3 separate regions of the Homo sapiens genome follow, and regions 2 and 3 are each linked to region 1. The links are contacts of gene promoters, found by promoter capture Hi-C in human tissues and cell types (Jung and others, 2019). All regions are on one chromosome and are shown on one strand. The core of a region is centred on a gene start or on the middle of the fragment in contact, and the rest is flanking DNA. Distances in the headings are between cores, read along the strand shown. Region 1 holds the start of FBXW12 (F-box and WD repeat domain containing 12). Region 2 overlaps SPINK8 (serine peptidase inhibitor Kazal type 8 (putative)). Region 3 holds the start of PLXNB1 (plexin B1).

Evidence for each region. The method cuts DNA at HindIII sites, captures the fragments that hold promoters and counts their contacts. A contact is called where the count stands out against the background at its distance.
Region 2: a contact is called between a fragment that was not itself captured here and the fragment with the promoter of FBXW12 in region 1, in 10 of the 25 tissues and cell types used here (IMR-90 fibroblasts, bladder, heart left ventricle and 7 more).
Region 3: the fragment with the promoter of PLXNB1 here is called in contact with the fragment with the promoter of FBXW12 in region 1 in 1 of the 25 tissues and cell types used here (IMR-90 fibroblasts).

The regions. Positions count from the first base shown.
Region 1 is chr3:48,370,303-48,373,468 of GRCh38, reverse strand. FBXW12 (F-box and WD repeat domain containing 12) reads right to left here and starts at 1,250. Exons shown (of 11, transcript NM_207102.2): 1 at 1,149-1,250; 2 at 612-785; 3 at 124-161. The coding sequence starts at 701. The HindIII fragment of the contact is 16,322 bases long and covers 1-3,166 here.
Region 2 is chr3:48,317,456-48,320,621 of GRCh38, reverse strand. SPINK8 (serine peptidase inhibitor Kazal type 8 (putative)) reads left to right here. Exons shown (of 8, transcript NM_001080525.3): 6 at 1,004-1,125. Among named protein-coding and RNA genes, the nearest start is that of MIR2115, 2.6 kb to the right of the region's middle. The HindIII fragment of the contact is 4,808 bases long and covers 1-3,166 here.
Region 3 is chr3:48,428,666-48,431,831 of GRCh38, reverse strand. It overlaps PLXNB1 (plexin B1), which reads left to right and starts at 1,746. Exons shown (of 38, transcript NM_001130082.3): 1 at 1,746-1,824. RefSeq lists an enhancer at 799-1,792 and silencers at 2,033-2,632, 2,713-2,792. The HindIII fragment of the contact is 17,995 bases long and covers 1-3,166 here.

The DNA of each region.
Region 1 (3,166 bases), core at 1-2,500:
TACTCACACTAACTTTCCTGTGTATATCTCACAACACAGCCACACAGGCCTTGGGACACAGCATGGGTGCGCAGTCAGATGATCTCCTCTCCCCTTCCCTCCTTGCCCTTTCCCTTCCCTTACCTCCACAGGTAATCACTGTCTGCAATCCTATTCCAATGCTATGGGAGAGAAAGGAAGAGACAAGCAGGCAATCAGTTACATCAGAGAGCAAGGGTAATCCTCTGCTATTATTTGTTCTGGGAGCTGGGCCCGCACAGGTTAATCAGATGGGATTCCAGCTCTCAAAGCACTCTCAGTGTGGGGAGATAAGGAAATGGTAACAACAGAGACCTATCACTGCTAATACAGGCACTGGGTATTCCCATGAATTCACAGGAAGAAGTGTTGATTTCCTAGGGCTTGAAATGGGAGCCTCAAGGACTGTTTAGTCAGCACAACTCCTGGATATCAGCTTGTCCTTTTCGTTTAACAGAATATGAGGCCCTCAGTATGAAGAATGCTAACCCCCAAAGCCTCAGTGTAACCCTCTGCTATTCTGCAAAGTGGTGCTCAAACTGGTCGAGAGAAGCAGCGGGCTTGGGGGGCAGTGGGAGGTGGAAGGCCTTTACCTTGTTCACCTGGGAAACCTGCAGCAAGCCGAACAGGTCCAGGAAAGAGAAGATTCGCTTCAAAGCTAAGTCAGGCAATCGGATCTCCATTTCATGCGGCCTGAACCCACATCCACTTTCCTTTCTCCTCTCCGGGCTGCTCTGAATTTATAGGCTTTGCCAAAGTCTGCAGCACTTGTAAAGATTTTCACCCATGCCCATCTGTGTGCGGTAGAAACAAGCTGCAGGTGTGCAGACTCCCGGGCTGACCTCCACCCCGGCCTCTCCCCTGGGGCCTGATCCACACAGCTGGCAGGCATCCCTACCTAAACCCACTTGTTAGTGCTGTTCATTGTTTAGAGGAGCTCAGCAACACCTGTGCGCTGTGAGCTGGAGGTGCAGAACCTGGGGCAGCCCCAGTTGCAGATGAAGTTGTCAGAACCCTTTAGGAAATGTCACCGAGTGCACTCACTTTGATCAGATCTGAGTGTCTCTATGACTCTATTTAAGTTCCAAACTCCTGGAATTGGAGTCTGCTTGCCCTGTGTCTGTGCCTACCTTGGGATCTTGAATCTGGTGAGTGGGGCTCATCTCTCAGCGCCAGCATGGCCTCTGGGTTTCTACCTTCTCGCATTTAACTTTGCAGTGGAGGAGAAAGAACGTGCCAAGCTGGCTTCTCCACAGAGGTCCGCCCAAAGGGAGCAGGCCTTGTCTGGGATGGCTCTCCCAGCTGGTGGCTTTCCCTGGGATGTGACGCTTTCCCACAGTTACAGATCTCCCAAGAACCTGACAACTCATTCTGGGATTTTCTAAAGACCGTGTCATAGCCTGGGTGTTTGTGTCCTCTCAAAATTCCTACGTTGAAATTCTAACCCTTGGTGTGATTGGAGGTGGGGGGCCTTTGGGAGGTAAGTGGGTCACAGGCAGAGTCCTTATGATGGGACCAGTGACCTTATAAAAGAGACCCCAGAACGCTCTCTAGCCCTGTTCATATCATGCGAGGACATGAGAAGGTGTCAGCTGCAACCTGGAAGAAGGCCCACACCAGAACCTGACCGTGCTGACAGGTGACTCTTGGACTTCTCTCCTCCAAAATTGTGAGAAATAAATTTGTTTGTAAGCCACCCAGTCTATGGTACTTTGCTGCAGCATAAGACAGGGGTCCCTCTGTGAGGCTCAGTGGCCAACCCTTCTTAAAACTGCTGCCTCCAGGCAGACACACGGGAGTGGTTGTCGGGAGTCCCATTTATGATACAGTAGTAAGAGAGAGGAAAAATACAAATTGACATGGTGAGGAAATAAAAAGGAAAAGCAAAGACCAAGAAGCACCTAGAGGGGCGTGGGGAAAGGCGAGTCAAGGGGTGTGTGGAGAGGAGTGAGAAAAATACAAGGGTAAAAGATTTGTATTCCATAAATAGGAAATAATGCAGAGAGAGCCAGAGCCGTGGAAGGACACAGGAAGACAGAAAGCTTGGAACGGACTCTATTGTAGAGGAACAGAATTAATGCAAAGATATAGAAGGCTGAGAAATAAAACACTTTAAAATATGACAAGGGAAGAGAAGAAACAGTAAAATAAAGGATATTTTAAAAGTATTAAAGCACAAATATTATAAAATACACAGATAGGAAATATAACTGTAAGTGGACTGAGACAGAGTAGGAATAAAATGGAAAAGAGGACAGATGAGAAAGAGGCAAACATAAGGAAACTGAAGCAAATTGCCGAATGAGTGAATGAATGAATTTGAAATAGAGGAACAGAGGCCAGGCACAGTGGCTCATGCCCGTAATCCCAGCACTTGGGGAGGCCGAGGCGGGTGGATCACCAGGTCAGGAGTTTGAGACCAGCTTGGCCAACATAGTGAAACCCTGTCTCTACTAAAAATACAACAAATTAGCTGGGCGTGGTGGCGGGTGCCTGTAATCCCAGCTACTTGGGAGGCTGAGGCAGGAGAATTGCTTGAAGCTGGGAGGTGGAGGTTGCAGTGAGCTGAGATTGCGCTACTGCACTCCAGCCTGGGCGACAGTGCGAGACTCCATCTCAACAACAACAACAAAAAAAATAGAGGAACAGGAAGGTGTGTTGGGGGGTGGTGGTGGCGGGGTGCTACCAGAAAAGCGGCAGAGAAAGACACATTGCAACAATAGATGAAGACAAATCTAAATGTCACAAGAGTTAAGAGATGTAAAATTTGAGAGATGTGAAATGGTAACTGCGTAATAGTCTAAGCAAAAGATAAGATGCAGGTGAGAGAATGGTCCGGACATTGTCTAGGAGAAAGTAGATTAAAGCAGGCAGCTGGGGAAACCTGAGAAGAGGGATCCATAAGGAGTTGGGCAGCCTGAGAGTAGGACAGAGAGGGAGGGACGACACAGCATGGGAAGTAAAGGGGGCGTAGCAAGGGGAGAAGTAACAGCACACCTTTCATGGCGCCTTCTGCAGGCAAGGCACCCGTCTAAACAATTTACAGGGGCTCATCTATTTAATCCTCACAACGGCTAGATGAGGTAAGTCCTATTACTGGCCACCTTGCCAGGGTGCTCCGTGTTCTCTTAGATTCTGAATTTGTCTG
Region 2 (3,166 bases), core at 329-2,828, 53 kb after region 1:
GCTGTGACAAGTTTCAGCCCCTGCCATCTGAGGCACCACATATGATAATGTTCATCAGAATTTTTTTTTTTTTTGAGACGGAGTCTTGCTCTGTTGCCCAGGCTGGAGTGCAGTGGCGCGATCTCAGCTCACTGCAACCTCTGCCTCCTGGGTTCAAGTGATTCTTCTGCCTCAGCCTCCCGAGTAGCTTGGACTACAGGTACGTGCCACCACACCCAGCTAATTTTTGTATTTTTAGTAGAGATGGGGTTTCACCATGTTGGCCAGGCTGGTCTCAAACTCCTGACCTTATGGTCTGCCCACCTCGGCCTCCCAAAGTGCTGGGAGTGCAGGCGTGAGCCGCCATGCCTGGCCCTTCATCAGAAATTTTAACCTGGAAAGACATTTCCCTACTTCTGCTCTCTGTAACCTACCAATCACATTTTGGGGTTGGTACAAAAATATGATTGTTAGGTTACAGAGGGCAGGGATTTTTATCTTTTTTTTTTTTTGGAGACGGAGTCTTGCTCTGTCGCCCAGGCTGGAGTGCAGTGGCGCGATCTCGGCTCACTGCAAGCTCCGCCTCCCAGGTTCACATCATTCTCCTGCCTCAGCCTCCCCAGCAGCTGGGACTACAGGCGCCCACCACCACGCCCGGCTAATTTTTTGTATTTTTAGTAGAGATGGGGTTTACCGTGGTCTCGATCTCCTGACCTCGTGATCCACCCACCTCGGACTCCCAAAGTGCTGGGATTACAGGCATGAGCCACCGCGCCCGGCCGGTATTTTTATCTTAATAAAGAATTTATGGGAGTCTGGAGAGTGCACAGATTATATATTATTTTGCAATTATATACATATTGTGGGTGGTAACTGTTGGGGTCAAACACTGAGGCTTCTGAATCCTTTTCTCTGAACTCCTGATCTGGTGCTCGTATTCCATCCACCTCCCAAGCTATACATAATAACGGCCAAAGGACCTGGATGAAAGTGTCTGAAGCAGTTGTGTGTGTCTCACCTTCAGGTTGAATGCCTCAAGAATGTAAATAAGTGCTGGTTTTTATCCTACATCAAGCCCAGTGAACCTATTTGTGGCAGTGACCAGGTTACCTACAGTAGTGACTGCCATCTGTGCTCCAAAATTCTGTAAGTCCTAATTTTGTTCTCCCTTTCTTTCAAGTCAAGAGGTTAAGAGTGGTCAAAAGAGGGTGATGACCTCAGCCCACTTCCTACATCATCCAATGAGACCTTCTCTCCAGACATTCCTCCAGTATTTGTTCCTCCCTTTCTTCCATTCCTTTCTGTGACCTCAAAAGGTACATGTGATCCTATTCAGACAATGCAGAAACAGAAATCCACTAAGGTGAGGGCACTGTGTGTGACCTGGACAAGCCTCAAGTGGAGGCACTCAGAAACAAGCAGCCATAGCATGTAGATCATGTGACCCTACATGAAGGTCATCCTCATGCCCCCTCAGGCCAAAGAACAGAAACAAAGAACAAAAAGAAGAGGAAGAGGAAGCTGGGTGAAGAATCTTCCCAGCTAATAGTTTATTGGTCCTAAAATGGATATTATTTTCCAAAACAACTTTCTTTTGCTTTCAACTTAGTATGTGGTTTAGTCTCTGCACCCATCACATGTTAGAAGCTTTGAGTAACACACAAGTGAAACGCCCAATTGTTTAGCCCAAGGGGAATAGTGAGGAGCAGGGGTTTGTATGAAGGAAACTCCGTATACAGTTAGGAGGATTCTCTGACATCTGCCTTCTCCTTTAAGGAGAAAAGCCACACCCTTGTCTAACTAAGGCTTACAAGTTGAGTGCTATCTTAAGAGAGAAAAGCAAAAACACAAGAGTAGATCAGAATTAAGTCTCTCTCCCCTTCCTCTTCTTAGCTTCTCCTCCAGAGAAGGAATAAGAATCTTCTTGATCAGGATGAGAGATATTTGGCTGGGCAGGATCGGACTTTCTTGTATTCTTGGCTGAATAAACACTAAAGCTTACACTAGAACCCATACGAGAGTTGTAAGGTAAACAACTTTGGTGTCAGCCTCAATCACTGGCACAGACGCTGACACCTGACAATCAGAAAGCATCATCTGGGGAATGCGCAGCATGACAGAGTCAAACGATGCTGGAACCAGGAGACATCTGAGAGATGGCCTCTAAAGAGCTCCCTTTCAGTGTATCTTAGAAATTATTCTAGCTGGGCGCAGTGGCTCACGCCTGTAATCCCAGCACTTTGGGAGGCCGAGGTGGGCGGATCACCTGAGGTCAGGAGTTCGAGACCAGCCTGGCCAATATGATGAAATCCCGTCTCTACTAAAAATACAAAAATTAGCCGGGTGTGGTGGTGCATGCCTGTAATCCCAGCTACTCAGGAGGATGAGGCAGAAGAATCCCTCGAACCCAGGAGGCGGAGGTTGCAGTGAGCTGAGATTGCATCACTGCACTCCAGCCTGGGAGATAAAGCAAGACTCCGTCTCAAAAAAAAAGAAATTATTCTCTTAGCAGTTGCACTGGATATTACAAGTTAAATTCTAATTTATACCAATCTAATTTGGATTAATACCAACTTAATTACAAAAATTTTAAAAAATATTTTTGCCTGGAGGGGTGGCTCAAGCCTGTAATCCCAACACTTTGGGAAGCTGAGGCAGAAGGATTGCTTGAGCCTAGGGATTTGAGACATGAGCAACATAGCGAGACCCTGACTCTACAAAAAAAAATTAAAAAATTAGCCAGGCATGGTGGCACCTGCCTGTAGTCCTAGCTACTTGGAAGTCAGGATGATTGCTTGAGCCCAGGAGTTCAAGGCTGCAGTGAGCCATGATCGTGCCACTGCACTCTAGCCTGGGCAACAGAGCAAAGTTCTTTTGAGACGGGCAGATCAGGAGGTCAGGAGATAGAGACCATCCTGGCTAACATGGTGAAACCCCATCTCTACTAAAAATACAAAAAATTAGCCAGACGTGGTGGCGGGTGCCTGTAGTCCCAGCTACTCAGGAGGCTCAGGCAGGAGAATGGCATGAACCTGAGAGGTGGAGCTTGCAGTGAGCCAAGATCGCGCCACTGCACTCCAGCCTGGGTGACAAAGTGAGACTCCGTCTCAAATAAATAAATAAATAAATAAATGCTCCTTTTTTTTTATTTTTTGAGATGTAGTTTCACTTTTGTTGCGCATGCTGG
Region 3 (3,166 bases), core at 497-2,996, 58 kb before region 1:
AGGGAAGGGAGATTGGGAGAATGGTTGATAAATGTTGCTGGGGACATAAGTATAGGGATTGGTGGCCAGTCTGGATCCCTGGTACAGAGATTGCTTTGGGCAGCAGTGGTGTGCCACGGGGGCTGGGTGCACACCCCCACACAGCCCGGGGATATCTTCCACAGGCATAGGCAGAGCTCAGGACACCGGGAGTGTGCATGGAGAGGCAGTGATAGGGAGGGGGGGGTCTCCCACAGGTGGGAGGTGCAGTGGGGCATATGTATGATCTCTTTTCAGAGGGGAACAGTGACCCTTGACCTTGACTAAATGGCCATGGGTGGCCTTGTGTGCCCTGAGTAAACAGGAGCTTTGGGCTGGTATTCAGTCCTGGTGTTGGAGTATTGGAAGTCAGGCACATTCCAGAGAACCCACTCCCCTTTGAGAGCGCAGGGTAGCTATATGCAGGGGGGCCGCAGGTGGGGACTCGTTCACTGGTGCCTGTGCAGAGCTCTCAGAGCCTGTGGAGTCAGGAGTGTTTCCCATAAGGCATACTTTCTTCTTGGAGCCTGTGTTCAGTCTTGGGCAGTGAGCATGGCCCAAATGCCCCCCACCCCAGGTTCTCAGCACCTGGTCCCTCAGTCAATCTATCCTTGGCGAGTAATGGCTCCCCAGAATGGCATGGGATGGAAAGACCCCTGTGCTTAGAGTGTTCACATTCCTTGTAGGGCAGGAGGTAGCGTATCTGTGTACAGATGAAAGGGGTTGTGGGGTTTGGAAGTCCCAGTTTCCTCTGGGGTGAGATAGGTCCTGAAGTGTGTGCTTGGATGAATGGATTTGGGGAGGGAGGGATTCTGTGCATGTGGAGGGGGCTGCTACAAGCTACATAGGCAGGAAAGCCAAAGTGGGTGAGGGACTGGGGCAGACTGTCCTGGCTGGGGTGGTGATGGGTGTGGGGGAGTTGTGCAGAATGATGTCACAGGCCCGGGGTGCCAGGTTGGCAGTCTGAGGTCAGAGGCTAAGGGTGAGGGATCCAGGGAGGGATTGCTATGCTGGTGCAGACAAGGTGCTAAGCACCTGGACTCAGGTGCTGGAAGTGGGAGTGGAGGAAAAGGGGTGACCTGACAGGAGACCCTTGATAGCTGGTGGGAGGTGGGAAGAGGGTGTCTCTAGCTCTAGGGCAGTAGCCAGTGTGGATGACCTGAACCTCCTGATTGAGGCTCCCCTAGCCTGTGGAGGCCTTGGAGGCTTTCAGATGATGCCTGTGACGTTTTTGCCTCCCAGGAAGCTGTGCCAATGGCTTTGAGCCAAAGTCCTCCAAAAGTCCTAATAGGATGGGCCAGGTTCTGGTCCTGAGTTAGCCGTGGGCATGCCAGGGTGTGAAGGGCCCTGCACAGGGTACAAATGGTCCCCAGGAGAGAACCTTTCTGCCAGCGTTTCCTCCCGCAGAAGGCCCAGGTGTTTGCCAGTGAGGGAGCCCAGACTTGCCCAACGCTTCTCAGCTTGGGGTGGGTCCAGGTCTGGGTCCTGGGCTGGGAAGAAAGGAAGGAAGTGAGCCCTTGCTTGTGCGCCTCTGCAGCCCAGGTTCCCTGCCTTCACAGCCCCGCTAGAGGTGGGATCACCCCCACTTACTGGTGAGCAAATAGGCTGGGGGGGGTTGGTGTCAGGTTACATGGTTTAGTTGATGGCGCAAGCCCAGGTCCAAAGCCCATGCTCTTCTCAAACAGCCAGAGGTGGGGGCCGGAAGGAGGGATTGGCTGTTGGGGAGTAGTGGGAGCAGGGGCGGTGAGCAGGGGCGGTGGGCAGGGCCAGGTGCGCAGGGGAGAAACAAGGCGCCTTGGAGTTCAGGTAAAGAAAGTTGGGGAGGATGACCACCGGAGCCGGGTAAGGAAGGGAAAGGGAGCTCCGGGCGCGGGGCGAGGCCGGGCGCTGGCAGAAGAACGGGTCGGGCTGGTGAGGGACTCGGGTGCTACCCGGCTCTGGACGGGCGGGAAGAGGCCGGGACGCTGTTCCACCAGCACCTGCGGGTGCGGAGCGCGACCCCCCGCCTCGGCTCCTGGCAACCAGGAAAGTTCCCAGTTCCGGTTCCAAGGAGGCGAGCAGGTGAGGCCGACGGGGCGGGGCGGCTCTGGCTCCCGGGGTTCACTCCTCACCCCTCCGGGCGACCCGCGTTGCCATGGCGACCGCCGCGGTGCAGCCCGCCCCCGCCCTCCCCCGTGCGGGAGGGGTCGGGTCCCCAGCCCTCGGCCGATGCGGAGCCCGCGGGGCTGGAATGCGGGGTCCCGGGCGGTTCGGGGCCGCGCGCCCGGCTCTCCGGGCTGCTTCCGGCCTGGCCCGGGCGGCGGGCGGGGGGAGGGCAGCCCGGCAGGCGAGGGGGAAGGAGCGGAGACGAGCCCGGCCGACGCGGCTTTGTCTCCTTTGTTCCCGGCGGTGGCAGCGCCGCGCGGGAGGGGCGGGCAGCGGGCGCAGTTTTCCGCCCCTCGGTCTCCGGGTAACAGCTGCGGCTCCGCCAGACCCGGGGAGAGGCCGCTGCGCGCGGAGCCCGAGCCCGGAGCGGCCGACGCCCGCCTCGGCGCGCACATCCCGCGGGGCCCGGCCGGGTGGTGAGTGCGGGGCTCGGGGCCAGGGCGGCGAGGAACGGGGCTCCCGAGGTGGAACGGGCCGGGGCCCCGATCCCGCCGGGCAGGGGCGGCCTGGGTGAGTGGTGGGCGGCTTTGGTTTTGAGAGTTGGGACCACACTTCTCCGCGCGAAGGGAAACTCTGGCGACTCCGCCTGGAACGCGATTGGGAGACTGAGGAGGTGGAGCTGCTCCTCCGCGCCCCCTCCTCGCCGTCGCCGCCGGGGACCGGCCGGCCCCTTCCCCGCCCTCCCAGGGCCAGTGATGGGGTCCTCGCCTCGGGGTCTGGGGGTTGGGGAGGGTCAAGGACGAGCCGAGTGGGGAGGTCGGGGCTTCCCCTCAGTAGTAACAGCCCTTTCTGGCTGCTCCCGGTGGGACTGACAAAGGCGGACCTCGAGCCTCCTGACCCCCGGGCGGGTGGGGGGGACCCTCCTCTCCACACACAGACATATTAAGTGGGTGATCGATGAGCGCCTTGGGTCATCGCAGGTGCCTGGTAAATGGTGGATCTCCCCACCCCTCCTCAACACACAGAAAACAGGGCGGGCAGCGGGCACCACTGCACTGTCAAT